Linked DNA regions of Homo sapiens: all the other regions are linked to region 3. The links are contacts of gene promoters, found by promoter capture Hi-C in blood cells and fetal thymus (Javierre and others, 2016). All regions are on one chromosome and are shown on one strand. The core of a region is centred on a gene start or on the middle of the fragment in contact, and the rest is flanking DNA. Distances in the headings are between cores, read along the strand shown. Region 1 overlaps LINS1 (lines homolog 1). Region 2 overlaps LINS1 (lines homolog 1). Region 3 holds the start of SPATA41 (spermatogenesis associated 41).

The links. Contacts are between HindIII fragments. The CHiCAGO score rates a contact against its expected background, and 5 or more counts as called.
Region 1: a fragment that was not itself captured here is called in contact with the fragment with the promoter of SPATA41 in region 3 in 2 of 17 cell types (naive CD4 T cells and non-activated CD4 T cells); the score reaches 5.7 in naive CD4 T cells.
Region 2: a contact is called between a fragment that was not itself captured here and the fragment with the promoter of SPATA41 in region 3, in 5 of 17 cell types (M2 macrophages, naive CD4 T cells, M0 macrophages and 2 more). The highest score is 8.2, in M2 macrophages.

Annotation. Positions count from the first base shown.
Region 1 is chr15:100,595,197-100,599,708 of GRCh38, forward strand. The region is part of intron 1 of LINS1 (lines homolog 1); the gene reads right to left. Among named protein-coding and RNA genes, the nearest start is that of LINS1, 4.7 kb to the right of the region's middle. The HindIII fragment of the contact is 2,419 bases long and covers 1,507-3,925 here.
Region 2 is chr15:100,572,990-100,576,984 of GRCh38, forward strand. It overlaps LINS1 (lines homolog 1), which reads right to left. Exons shown (of 7, transcript NM_001040616.3): 4 at 1,998-2,139; 5 at 662-1,252. Among named protein-coding and RNA genes, the nearest start is that of LINS1, 27 kb to the right of the region's middle. The HindIII fragment of the contact is 1,080 bases long and covers 725-1,804 here.
Region 3 is chr15:100,348,045-100,352,272 of GRCh38, forward strand. SPATA41 (spermatogenesis associated 41) reads right to left here and starts at 2,674. Exons shown (of 2, transcript NR_028139.1): 1 at 690-2,674. It overlaps LOC105371021 (a long non-coding RNA gene), which reads left to right and starts at 1,562. Exons shown (of 3, transcript XR_007064777.1): 1 at 1,562-1,638; 2 at 2,331-2,901; 3 at 3,635-4,100. RefSeq lists an enhancer at 1,842-2,101. The HindIII fragment of the contact is 2,620 bases long and covers 375-2,994 here.

The DNA.
Region 1 (4,512 bases), core at 1,466-3,965, 250 kb after region 3:
CCGGAACTCAGCAAAATTTAAAACTTGCTCTGCAAAAAAACCCTAAGAAGATGAGAAGACAAGCTACAGACTTAAAGAAAAATATCTGCAAAGCACATGACTAGTACCTAGAATATATAAAGAACTCCCAAAACTCAACATTAAAAAAAAAAATTCAATTACAAAATGGATCAGACATGCACAGACATTTCACCAAAGAGGATATAAAGATGGCAAATAATCCCACAGAAAGATGCTTAACCATATTAGCCATTACAGAAATATGAATTAACACTACAGTGAACTACCACTACTAGAAGAGCTAAAAATGACTCCAAATGCTGGGGAGGATGCTGAGAAACTAGATCTCTCCTACACTGCTGGTGAGAATGAAAAACGGCACATCCTCTTTGGAAAACAATTTGTGGTTATCTTTAAAAAGATATGTCTATGTTTGAATTCAGAATACAAAAATAATCTATTTTCATGGTCAATATTAGAAGTAAAAAAAATTACTAGTTTCTTTATATGATGTGGCTACTACATAGACTAATAGACTGGGAAAGTCAATAGTAGGCCTTCCCCTAATTCAACAACAGTTGGTTCAAATCTGACCACAGCCCAAGAGGCTACTTAATCTATTTTGCTCCATTAATGAAGATGCAGTGACAACTGTCGCGGAAGTTGAGGCCTCCAAACCCAGGCTGTCTTCCAGGATTCTGGTTCCCTCCACCAATCGAAACTGCACTTTTCACAGAAAAAATAAAATGGGTCTGGTTAGACAAGAGCACCTCCCTCCCCTATTAAAAGAAGTGGGGCAGATATCTTCCGACAGCATGCCATGTGCCAGTATCTTCCCTTTAGTTCCATTCTTCACTCTCCTCTGTGCCCCAACAGACTCCAGGAGATTTGGAGTGGGAGGGGCGGAAGGCAGGCTGGACTTTCAAGCTCCAGGAACTGCCAGCTCTCTTTACCTTCAGGGCTAAAGGGGGTGCTGGCGGTTACTGGCCTTGGAGTGCTACACCATCCTTCCTTTTCCTCAAAACAATAGTACTCAAACTGTGTCATGCACTAGACAGGTTTATGAAAGCAGACTGCAGGGCCCTATCCTAGGAGCTTCCCATAAGATAGTTCTGGGGTGGGGCCCAGTAATTTGTATTTCTAACAAGTTTCCAGGTTACTTCTGAGATAGTGAGAATACAAACTCTGTCACGTGTTTGTAAATTGTCTTCCTATTAAACTCTTGTCTTAGGACTCTGAAACAGGCCAGATTTTTTTGGCATGAAGGAAAAGCCTGGCAATCAAGTTATAGATAAAAGACTTAATGCTTAAATGCATTTTTCTGTCAAAGTGATATACTGGTAACAGCCTGATGATACAGGAGCTAGAAATTATTTAGACAGATAGTGAGGGTAAGAGAGTCCTCGGCAAGGTTTCCCTTTTAATAAAAAGCAGCCCCCAAATCATTTCTTTTCTAACAAAAAGCGGCCTGAAAAATCAAGCTGCAAGCATAGATACACAAGTAAAAGCTTGCATAGGTGAATGCCGGCAGCTGTGCCAATGGGAAAGGGCTACCTGGGGACCAGGCACAGATAAGAATGTAACAGAGGAAGCCTGCTGCAATTGGTTAAATCCAAGATGGCCAAAAACTTGACTGAATGCATACTCTTGGCTGCATTATGCCCCATTACCATAAAACTTCCCTGGGGAAACCGCCCACTCCCTGCCACGTACCTGAAGCTATGGCAGTTCCAGATTAACCACATTTAGTCAAGAAAAGGGTGGCGCCCTGATTCTGGGAACTGCCCACCCATTTCCTGGAAACCCTCTCCTTTCATCATAGAATATTTGTGCCTTCATCATGCCTGTCTGCGTAGCGAGCCCTGACCACATTACACGCCTCTTTTGAGCACATCCAGGCTCCTCTTTTGAGTGTGCACTTGCTTTCACTCTGCAACAAACCTTCTACATTTTCACTGTGGTCTCCCTTTCAAATTCTTTTGTGCAGAGAAGCGAAGAACCTGACCTGGCCTACTGGCAACAGTATCTTTCTCAAGTAGCTCTATTATGTGACCACTCCAAAGGCAAATCTTTTTTTTTTTTTTTAAACATAGCACAAATTAATGCTGGACATTAGAATCATAACGTGTTCATACTAGAAAAAATCTCAAGAGATAATTTAGAGATAATTCTCAAACCGTAGCATCAGAATTACCTGGAAGGCTTATTAGAACACAAATGGCTGGGCCCACTTTGGAGATTCTGATTTAGTGGGTCTGGGAGGGCCCAAGAATTGAACCAGGGACTACATTTTGAGAACCACTGCACAATCTACTTGATTTATTGATGAGGAATCTCAGCTCCTTAGGTTTTTATATGCTAATGCTAAGCATTTTTAAAATAAATGGAAATTATCCAGTGTATCAATATGAATACTTTTCTATACTTAGTTGCTAAATTATAACTGTATGTTTTAAGTGGTACTTCAGAATGAAATATTTCACTGAAAGGTTTTCCTTAGTCTTCCCCTTTTCCAGTCTATGCCTTGTCCCTTTTCCATCTGCCCCCACAAACCCGCCACCAGTGGCAGGGTAGCGTTGAGGAACTGTCTATAGATGTGATACTGTCTAGATTTTACTGAACTCCTAAATTCTGTACACAGACAAGATCTGATTTTTCAATTGATAAAACGAGATTATCTACCTACCTCAGCCAAGTAGCATACTCAAAGATTTGCAAAAATTAAATGGCTTATATGTGAAAACACCTGTATAACTCAAGTAGGAAGATGTCAATATGTCTTTATTTATTAACCTTGAAAGGTTCCTTCCAGCCTCTGGGCCTTGATACAATGCTTCTCCTTCCACCCACTTTCCCTTTTGTTTTAGGCTTAAATATGACTTTCTTTGGCAGGGGTAGGTCCTCCGGTGATACTGTCTTCCAGCTCTGGTGCCCTGTCTTACAGAATGTGTCACAATTATACTTTAACGATTTGTGCAATGATTTTTATGATTTAGAGTTGTCTGCTTGGTTCTTCCCTAGCTCCTAGCACAGCATTTGATACACAGTAGGTACTTATATTTGTGGAATACATTCCTGGCTGAAGATTAATTTAGTAGTGTATATGTAACAATCCTAAAATCAGTCCCAAAGTATATTTTAGTACCGTTTTGATCTCAAAAAACTTTAAAAACACCATGTAATATTTTAAGTTGTGAATTTTAAATTATAATAAAAATGTAGTATCAAAGAATTATAAACAGTAGTATCCATAGCAGGGATTAAGTTCTGAGCTCATTCAGTCTTTACCGTATGACACATCTGACAACGTACTTGACAGAAGCAACACACACTGAAGCACCATCTTAAAATGGCTGTGGTAGAATACCATAGAAGACCAAAATCCCTTAAATTACCAGGGCAAGAACTATAAGGAACTCAAAAGCCTCCAGTTAGCTTCCTTTCTTTCGGCGTTCTTTTTGCTGTGATGACCAAGGTCTGAAATACAATTTCTCTACCCAGCCCCATCGCCTTTTCTGCCAGGTACAGCTGAACTAAGTTGGGCTAACAAGGCAAATGATGGGCTCCAAACTGTGCTGCATCTGTCTTTATGGTGGCCCTCTTTATTACACCAAGATCCCCAGACACAACCTGCTGGCCCAGAACACTGCCTGCTGCCAACTAGAGCATAACCTGCTCATTCTCTCCACCACCAAGTGCTTTATGGGCCAGGACACAGCCTCCTGGGCAGTGGTCCTTGACCTTGGAATCTGACCTTGACACTGACATCACTGGAACATTAGGAAAAACCCATGAGCCTTGGACTCCCTAGAGACCAGCTAAATCAGAATTGCTGCAGTGGTGCTGGGGCATTTTTCCAATGACAAAGTCTCTTTCTACTCAAGAAATAAACTCAATTCTGATTGAGTCAGGGTTTCATGAATCAAGCTTCATGAATACTTATCCCAAATTATTTCACTTATATGTTGTAAGATGTTCCCATTTTTGTGAGTTTTATATTATTAACTAAGTTAATGGGAAATGAAGTGTATCTGTTAAAACCTAATCAATATTAACTTGTTATAAATATTCCGCAATCTAAACTGCTTTTACATCATTGAAAAGTTATAAAAATTAGCAAATCTGATAGCACCAATTCAATAAAGCAATTTAAAATTACCTAGTAGCACATTCTGTGAAACTTTGACAATATGATGTTACTTGGCTATGATATAATCATGTACTTCAATCATTTGAAAATGGTTGTTTAACTCAAAGGCAGGATTTTTAATGAAAAACAAATGGCCAGAAATACAAAGAACTAGGAATTAGGAGACAACTCTGTTTCTAGGCTCTTCACCAACAAGTTCTTAGGCCCCCATCTCTCTACTTAACTATCATTTAGCAAATACACCATATGAATTGCATGGGTGCCGAGTCTGCTATAAGAATGAATATGTTCTCCACAACAATTTACATATTTATTCATTTCTCTCTCCCTCTTTTTCCTTCTTTTTGGGAGTTCAAAACTTC
Region 2 (3,995 bases), core at 15-2,514, 220 kb after region 3:
GCAAGACCCTGCCTCAAAATAAATAAACAGTAAACACAACAATAACAAAGAAATAACAACAAACAATAATAACAATAAACACATAAGTGGGAGTGAACATATTTTTCTTTAATCTCTCTGTCTTCTCCTCTCTCTCTCTCTCTCTCCCTGAAAGGATCTCCATCTGTTGCACCAGGACTGGAGTGCAGGTGTGCGATGGGTCGCGGCTCACTGTAGCCTTGATCTCCCAGGCTAGGACCTCCCAGGTTGGGACAGGAGGAATAGCATGGGCCGAAGGGGGGTCAGGGCTGCAGTGGGCCATGGTCACGCACCTGCAGTTTAGATTAAAAAAAAAAAAAGGATTAATATAAATAAAATGCTGTAAATACTTGAATATGAATTGATTTCCATCACTTACTTTGAGATGACTCAACAGCAACTTTTTTAAACCTAAATCATTCCTTATGCTTTACAAATTCATTGTAGGCACAAAAAGCTGACATGTTTCTTAAAGGTAAATCCAGTTCTTTTTTTTTTTTTTGAAAATGTAATAAGTTACAAATAGGATAACATACAGCTTAAATTACTGGAATTTAAACTAGTCCTGAGATTTGATAATTATGAATTACTGTACTTAAGTAAATAATTACACACTGCATACAAAAGGAGTTTGGAGAATTACCTTTCACTTCACTTGCTGAAGAATAATTTTGAAACTTGATTTCTAAGGATTTCATTATAACTAAGCTTGCTGCTCTAAGGATCACATGATCTGGACTAGTGATAAGTTCACATTCAGGTTGAACTTCATCACCTCCAAAAAAGGAATGTTTTTCATAAACAGACAGTGTCTTCAACAACCCCGAATTCACAGCTTGCAAAACAGCATTAGCTAAAGCCAGCATGTCCACCGCTACATGATGGTCTGGCGGCATTAAGGCAGGCACAGATCCACGACAGAGGTCTTCACCCACTTTACAGAGAAGGCACTTTTTGAGGAATATGATGACCTTCCTTTTAACAAAAGCCTGAATAGGCCAGGTAATAACTTCTAGCATGCAAGATGGTTTCAAAAATAAAATCCTCTGGCAAGTGAAATGTAACTTCAGGTGGATTCTGGAGGCGATGAGAAGCTCAAGCAAATCCAGGAAACACATCAGGATGTTTACTATTTTAGAAGTATCCCGGCAGTTTTCAAAATGCTGAGAGAATAAGGAATTGTAAAACACTTCAAAAATGGTGTCGAAATGAGTCAGGAACTGCTTTAGAATTTCTGCAATTATAAAAATAGGAATTATAAACAGGAAAAACAGTCTTCTTCAAACAATTTTACAATTCACTTTTTATAAATATCACTTTTTAAGATGAAAAAACAGATTTGGAATGTTTACCTCTAACATTAACAAATGAGGTTACACAGATTAATGGGTAAGAACCACGGTTAAAATTCATTTTATGGCTGGGTGTGGTGGCTCACAACTGTAATCCCAGCACTTCGGGAGGCCGATGCGGGTGGATCACTTGAGGTCAGGAGTTTGAGACCAGCCTGGCCAACATGGTAAAACCCTGTGTCTACTAAAAATACAGAAATTAGCTGGGTGTGGTGGTGAGCGCCTGTAATCCCAGCTACTCGGGAGGCTGAGGCAGAAGAATCACTTGAACTCGCAAGGCAGGGGTTGCAGTGAGCCAAGATCATGCCATTGCACTCCAGCCTGGGCAACAAAGCAAGACTTGTCTCAAAAAAATAAAACAAAACAAAACAAAAAATATTCATTTTACGAATATCAGTAACATCAAACAATGCAAGGGATTTGTGCTCATGAAAAGCTTTACTTTTTTCCTTATACTTTTTTTTCTTTTAAAACAGGTTATCCTCAATCAAAATATATTGGAAGAGACTGACTTTTTCATTACTTTAAGACAGATCAGATGTTCCAAATTAAGTTTTGTTTCTCATTATAAATGCAACGCTCCCAGGAGCAAGATGATGATTGTTTATGGGGCCATGTAATCCATACCTGTTTTCTGTGAACATGAATCTTTAAAGATTTCTTTTATTATTGCTGTAAGAGTCCAGAGGCAGTATATTGCTTTATTACTCTCAGAGTATTCAGAAAGATTTTTCTGGCAAAAAGCAATCCAGGAATTACTTAAGGTTATCTACAAGTGAGAAAATAAAGCAAGCAGTTAAAATACAATATTTTCTTTACATAATACAACTGTATACAACATTGTTTATACATTTGGCCAAAAGAAGTATGATAATATGTGGCACACCGAGAAGGAACAGAAGTATCCTAATATTATTTAAGTAAAAAAATCGAATATGCCACAGAAATAAAATAAAGGGATGGAGGAAGATCTACCAAGCAAATGGAAAACAAAAAAAGGCAGGGGTTGCAATCCTAGTCTCTGATAAAACAGACTTTAAACCAACAAACATCAAAAGAGACAAAGAAGACCATTACATAATGGTACAGGGATCAATTCAACAAGAAGAGCTAACTATCCTAAATATATATGCACCCAATACAAGAGCACCCAGATTCATAAAGCAACTCCTTAGAGACCTACAAAGAGACTTAGACTCCCACACAATAATAATGGGAGACTTTAACACCCCACTGTCAACATTAGACAGAACAACGAGACAGAAAGTTAACAAGGATATCCAGGAATTGAATTCAGCTCTGCACCAAGCAGACCTAATAGACATCTACAGAACTCTCCAACCCAAATCAACAGAATATACATTCTTCTCAGCACCACACCACACCTATTCCAAAATTGACCACATAGTTGGAAGTAAAGCACTCCTCAGCAAATGTAAAAGAACAGAAATCACAACAAACTGTCTCTCAGACCACAGTGCAATCAAACTAGAACTCAGGATTAAGAAACTCACTCAAAACCATTCAACTACATGGAAACTGAACAACCTGCTCCTGAATGACTACTGGGTACATAATGAAATGAAGGCAGAAATAAAGATGTTCTTTGAAACCAACAAGAACAAAGACACAACATACCAGAATCTCTGGGACACATTTAAAGCAGTACGTAGAGGGAAATTTACAGCACTAAATGCCCACAAGAGAAAGCAGGAAAGATCTAAAATTGACACCCTAACATCACAATTAAAAGAACTAGAGAAGCAAGAGCAAACACATTCAAAAGCTAGCAGAAGGCAAGAAATAACTAAGATCAGAGCAGAACTGAAGGAGATAGAGACACAAAAAACCCTTCAAAAAATCAATGAATCCAGGAGCTGGTTTTTTGAAAAGACCAACAAAATTGATAAACCGTTAGCAAGACTAATAAAGAAGAAAAGAGAGAAGAATCAAATAGACGCAATAAAAAATGATAAAGGGAGTATCACCACTGATTCCATAGAAATACAAACTACCATCAGAGAATACTATAAATACCTCTATGCAAATAAAGTAGAAAATCTAGAAGAAATGGATAAATTCCTGGACACATACACCCTCCCAAGACTAAACCAGGAAGAAGCTGAATCTCTTAATAGACCAATAATAGGCTCTTAAATTGAGGCAATAATAATAGCTTACCAACCAAAAAAAGCCCAGGACCAGATGGATTCACAGCCGAATTCTACCAGACGTACAAGGAAGAGCTGGTACCATTCCTTCTGAAACTATTCCAATCAACAGAAAAAGAGGGAATCCTCCCTAACTCATTTTATGAGGACAGCATCATCCTGATACCAAAGCCTGGCAGAGACACAACAAAAAAAGAGAATTTTAGACCAATATCCCTGATGAACATCGATGAGAAAATCCTCAGTAAAATACTGGCAAAACCAAATCCGGCAGCACATCAAAAAGCTTATCCACCATGATCAAGTGGGCTTCATCCCTGGGACGCAAGGCTGGTTCAACATATGCAAATCAGTAAATGTAATCCATCATATAAACAGAACCAAAGACAAAAACCACATGATTATCTCAATAGATGCAGAAAAGGCCTTTGACAAAATTCAACAACCCTTCATG
Region 3 (4,228 bases), core at 1,424-3,923:
AGACCAAGGAAAAAGCAATGGTAACTGCATTCATTTATGTACTCATTAGGTCCTTCAACCCTTCTTCAGTGCCTACTTTCTGTGTGCCACGTACTGAGATGCCAAATGAAGAGGCAGCAGCATATAAATTGCACTTCTTTCCCCACAGTTCTCTATAGAGCTCTGTTATGAACTAGACACTGTTCCTGGTGCTGGGGATTTAGAAACGAAAAAGTAACTTCCCTGTGTTCTATCTAGTGGGGGAAGGCAGATAGAAAGAAATAATTTTGTGGGAATGTAAAATGGTACAGTCACTGTGGAAAACAGTACGACTATTCCTCCAAAATAGATTTACCCTATGATCCAGCAATTCCGTTTCTGGATGTGTACCCCAAAGCTTTGAAAGCGGGGACTCCAACAGGTATTTGCATACTCATATTCATAGTATGCAAATTTAACTAAGTAGATGTTGTCATGGCATTTGTAAGCTGCCATGGCACTAGCGGGAGTGTCTTTTGCCATGCTAATACATTATAATTAGTGTATAATGAGCAGTGAGGACGAGCAGAGGTTGCTTTTGTCACCATCTGGTTTTGGTAGGTTTTGGCCAGCTTCTTTACCGCATCTTGTTTTATCAGCAGGGTCTTTGTGACCTGTATCTGGCAAAACCTCCCCTGAGATGCAATTCATTGGTTCCTGGGGTAACCAACCTGCCTCCCTGGCAGCCACTGACTCATCCTGTGACGAAGAATGCCTAACCTCCTGGGAATGCAGCCCAGCAGGTCTCAGCCTCATTTTGCGCAGCACCTGTTCAAGATGGAGTCGCTCTGGTTCGAACACCTCTGACAGCTGCCCGACAATGTGAATGTACTTAATGCCACTGAACTTACAAATGATTGAAATGGTAATTTTACGTTATAGTACATTTTACTACAGTAAAAAATGTTTTAAAAAAGAAATCATTACTCTCTTGCTAAGATCTTGTTTCATCTTAACACACACGAGATGCCTTGTCTTCATTTCGTGGACAGGCAAGGCCGAATTCCGTTTCACAGATAGAGGACTGAGATCTGGAGGCAGAGGGCAGGAATTAAAAACAAGACAAACAAGAGCCTTATACAGGCAGTGTCTTTCTGAGTCTGATCCCTGTTGTCTTGAGAGCTGCGGTGAGGGAAAGTCGTCTTCAGAGCCCTCAGGGTCAAAGCAGTTTGTTACCCTTGAGATAGACAAAGCTCCTAACCTCTCCAGCTTTTTGCCGACAGCTCGATTCTGATGGGCACTGACCTTTTCCGACCCTGTTTTCAGGAGCCGACTCCTGGCAGGTTGGTTGTAGGGGCCCTCTTGAGTGCTTCACACACAGCAGTCCTGTTGGGGTGAAGGTCACCGTCACTGTGATAATTGTTGTCGTCGTTGAAACCACCCAGCCCGAAAGCAGCATGGGCTGTGCCCAGAGCCGCCGTGCCAGAAGCCCACGCTTAGAAATAGAGGGCCGAAGACCAAAGAGGACTGCGGGTTCTTGGGCCAAACGTGACCCTCTCAAATCCCCCAACTCGGGGATTTCGTTAGCTGGGGACTGGTGTGCCCGGGTTCCAAGACCCCTGCGTAGACTCTGTCTATAGGTGGAAGAAGGCCTTTGCCCCGAGGCATCCAGAGGTAACGGTGAGAGGAACAAGGGCACGTGGGGGATCCCACCACAGCCTCCCCTGAGACCCTCTTCACGCTGGTTGCAGGAGTAGCCAACCCCGCTCCCTGGCAGCCCGTGAGATGCCACATCCCCTCCAGCAGGGGGCGGCCGGCATCGGTCCCGTCTTCCTAAACCGGCGTTGGTGGGAAATGCCGGCACCAGCTCCCTCCCCGCTCCAGAGCCCTGTTTTCCCCATTTGTATTTCACTACTTTCCTGTTGAGCTTGGATTCCAGCCTCAAATTCCGCGATTTGGCCGGCATCCTAATCCCCGAGTGACTCTTGCCAACCACTCTCTGTGGGGCCTGTGTGCTTCCTCCTGGGTTCTGGGGCGCTGGCGGCGTCCGCTTCACCGGGAACGGGAGCCCCAGCCTCCCGAGGCCTTCCTGCCTGGCTCTGGGAATGGCCACTGTCCAGAAAGCCCCGCGGCCGTCCATGCTCGCTCGCTCAGTCAGGCCCTTGTGGGGATATTGCAGAACGAGTCCGAGTTACTATCCCTTTAAATACAGGCGTTTCGGCCTAGCTGCCGCCGGTCCAATCCGCAGCGCTTCCGTGCCCCACTTTCCCGCGTCAGCCTGGCTCCGGCCTCCACCAGGGGGTGCTAGTGAGATCCCAGCCAGCCTCAGAGCTGAGCGTCCAGGGCCTTCAAATGTCCCCATCCTTGAAAAGGCAACTCCAGTGGCATCTTCTGCGGGGAGACCAGAAGCAGCATCTGACGAGGAGACAGCACTGGCGGTCCCGACACAACTGAATCGGCAGGATGAGGGCCCTTAGTGTTAGGCACCGGCGGAGCTGCATCCCACCCCGTCTCGTCCCCTGAGAACAGCTGTGAGAAGCCGCCTATTTTTCATCGTTCTGCAACACACCTTTCCCTTCCTTGGGATATTTCTCCTCTTTCAGCATTGCCGCATCAGGGTTCCAAAGCCCCGTTTCTCTCCTAGTTCTTTCTTTGCTCAAGAAAAGCAGCTTGTCTGATAAACTAAGCTATGTATGATTCGCTGCCAGTACAGACTGAAAAACAAAATAAACTCCCAATTCACAGTCCTCCGTTGCGTAACAGTGAGCAGACGTTCTGAGAAATGCATCGTCAGGCAATTGCATCATTGTGCAAACAATATAGAGTGTACTTACCCAAACCTAAACAGCACAGCCTACTACACACCCAGGCTGTAGGCTGTGCTTCTAGACTACAAACCTGTACAGTGTGGTACTGAACACTGTAGGCAACTGTAACACAATGGTAAGTATTTGTGTATCTAAACATAGAAAAGATACAGTAAAAATATGGTATGAAAGATTGAAACTGGTGCACCTGCCTAGGGCACCTACCGTAAGCTTGGAGCTTACGGGACTGAAAGTTGCTCTGGGTGAGTCAGTAAGTGAGTGGTGAGTAAATACGAAGGCCTAGGACATTACTGTACACTACTGTAGACTTTAAAACCCTGTACACTAGGCCCACACTCAATTTATTTTTAAAAATTTTCTTTCCTTCAATAATATATTCACTTTAGCTTACTGTAACTTTTCTACCTTAAGAATTTTTAAATTTTTTGACTCTTTTAATAACAGCTTGAATACACAAACACATTGTACAGCTATACAAAAATATTTTCATTCTTCATATCCTTATTCTATAAGCTTTTTTCCTACTTTTGAAGTTGTTTATTTTTTACATTTTAAACTTTTTGTCAAATATTAAGACACAAACACACATTAGCCTAGGCCTATACAGGGTCAGGATCATCAATACCACTGTCTTCTGCTTTCACATCTTGTCCCACTGGAAGGTCTTCAATGGTAATAACACACATTCTTAGTAAATGCAAATAGTCATGGCTCAGACTGATATAGTAATGATAGACTATTCAATATGTGGTATTGGACAGCTGTTTATATATTTGTACGAACCTAAGTTAGATTCTGTGGTGGTTCAAAAATATATCCTCTAATTATGACCTGCTTCCCTTCAACAGGTGTACCTAATTCCTCTGCCTAGAAAGTGTGCTGGAATTACTGCCTGGCTTCTGATGAATAGGGCGTATTGAGAGTGATGCTTTGTGAGTTCTGAGGCTAGGTCATAGAAAGGATTGAACTTATTCCTGAATGTTGCTCTTGGATCACTTGCTTTTTTGGGAACCACCAGCCATGTCATGAGGACACTCAAGCAACCCTGCAGAGAAGCACATGTGTGGAGAGGCACTTCTTGGAAAGGAGGCCAACTTGCCAGAACCAACTAATTTGTCATGTGAGTGAGTCATTTTGGAAGCAGATCCTCTACCCTCAGTCAGGCCTTCCGATGATTTCAGCCCCCAGCCTTTGAGTCTGCCCCAAACACCATGAGTAGAGACAAGCCCTTCCCACTGTGTCCACCCTGGCTGAATTCCAGACCGTTAAAAAAACAAGAGAAAATAAATTATTATTAGTGTTTTGAGTCACTAAGTTTTGGACTAATTTGTTATGCAGCAATAGCTAACAACTACAGAGTCATAACACAAACTAAAATTAATTCTAAGGCATGTTAAAGATTTATATGAAAGCATTCATCTAATGGAGGTGTGCAAGAAGTG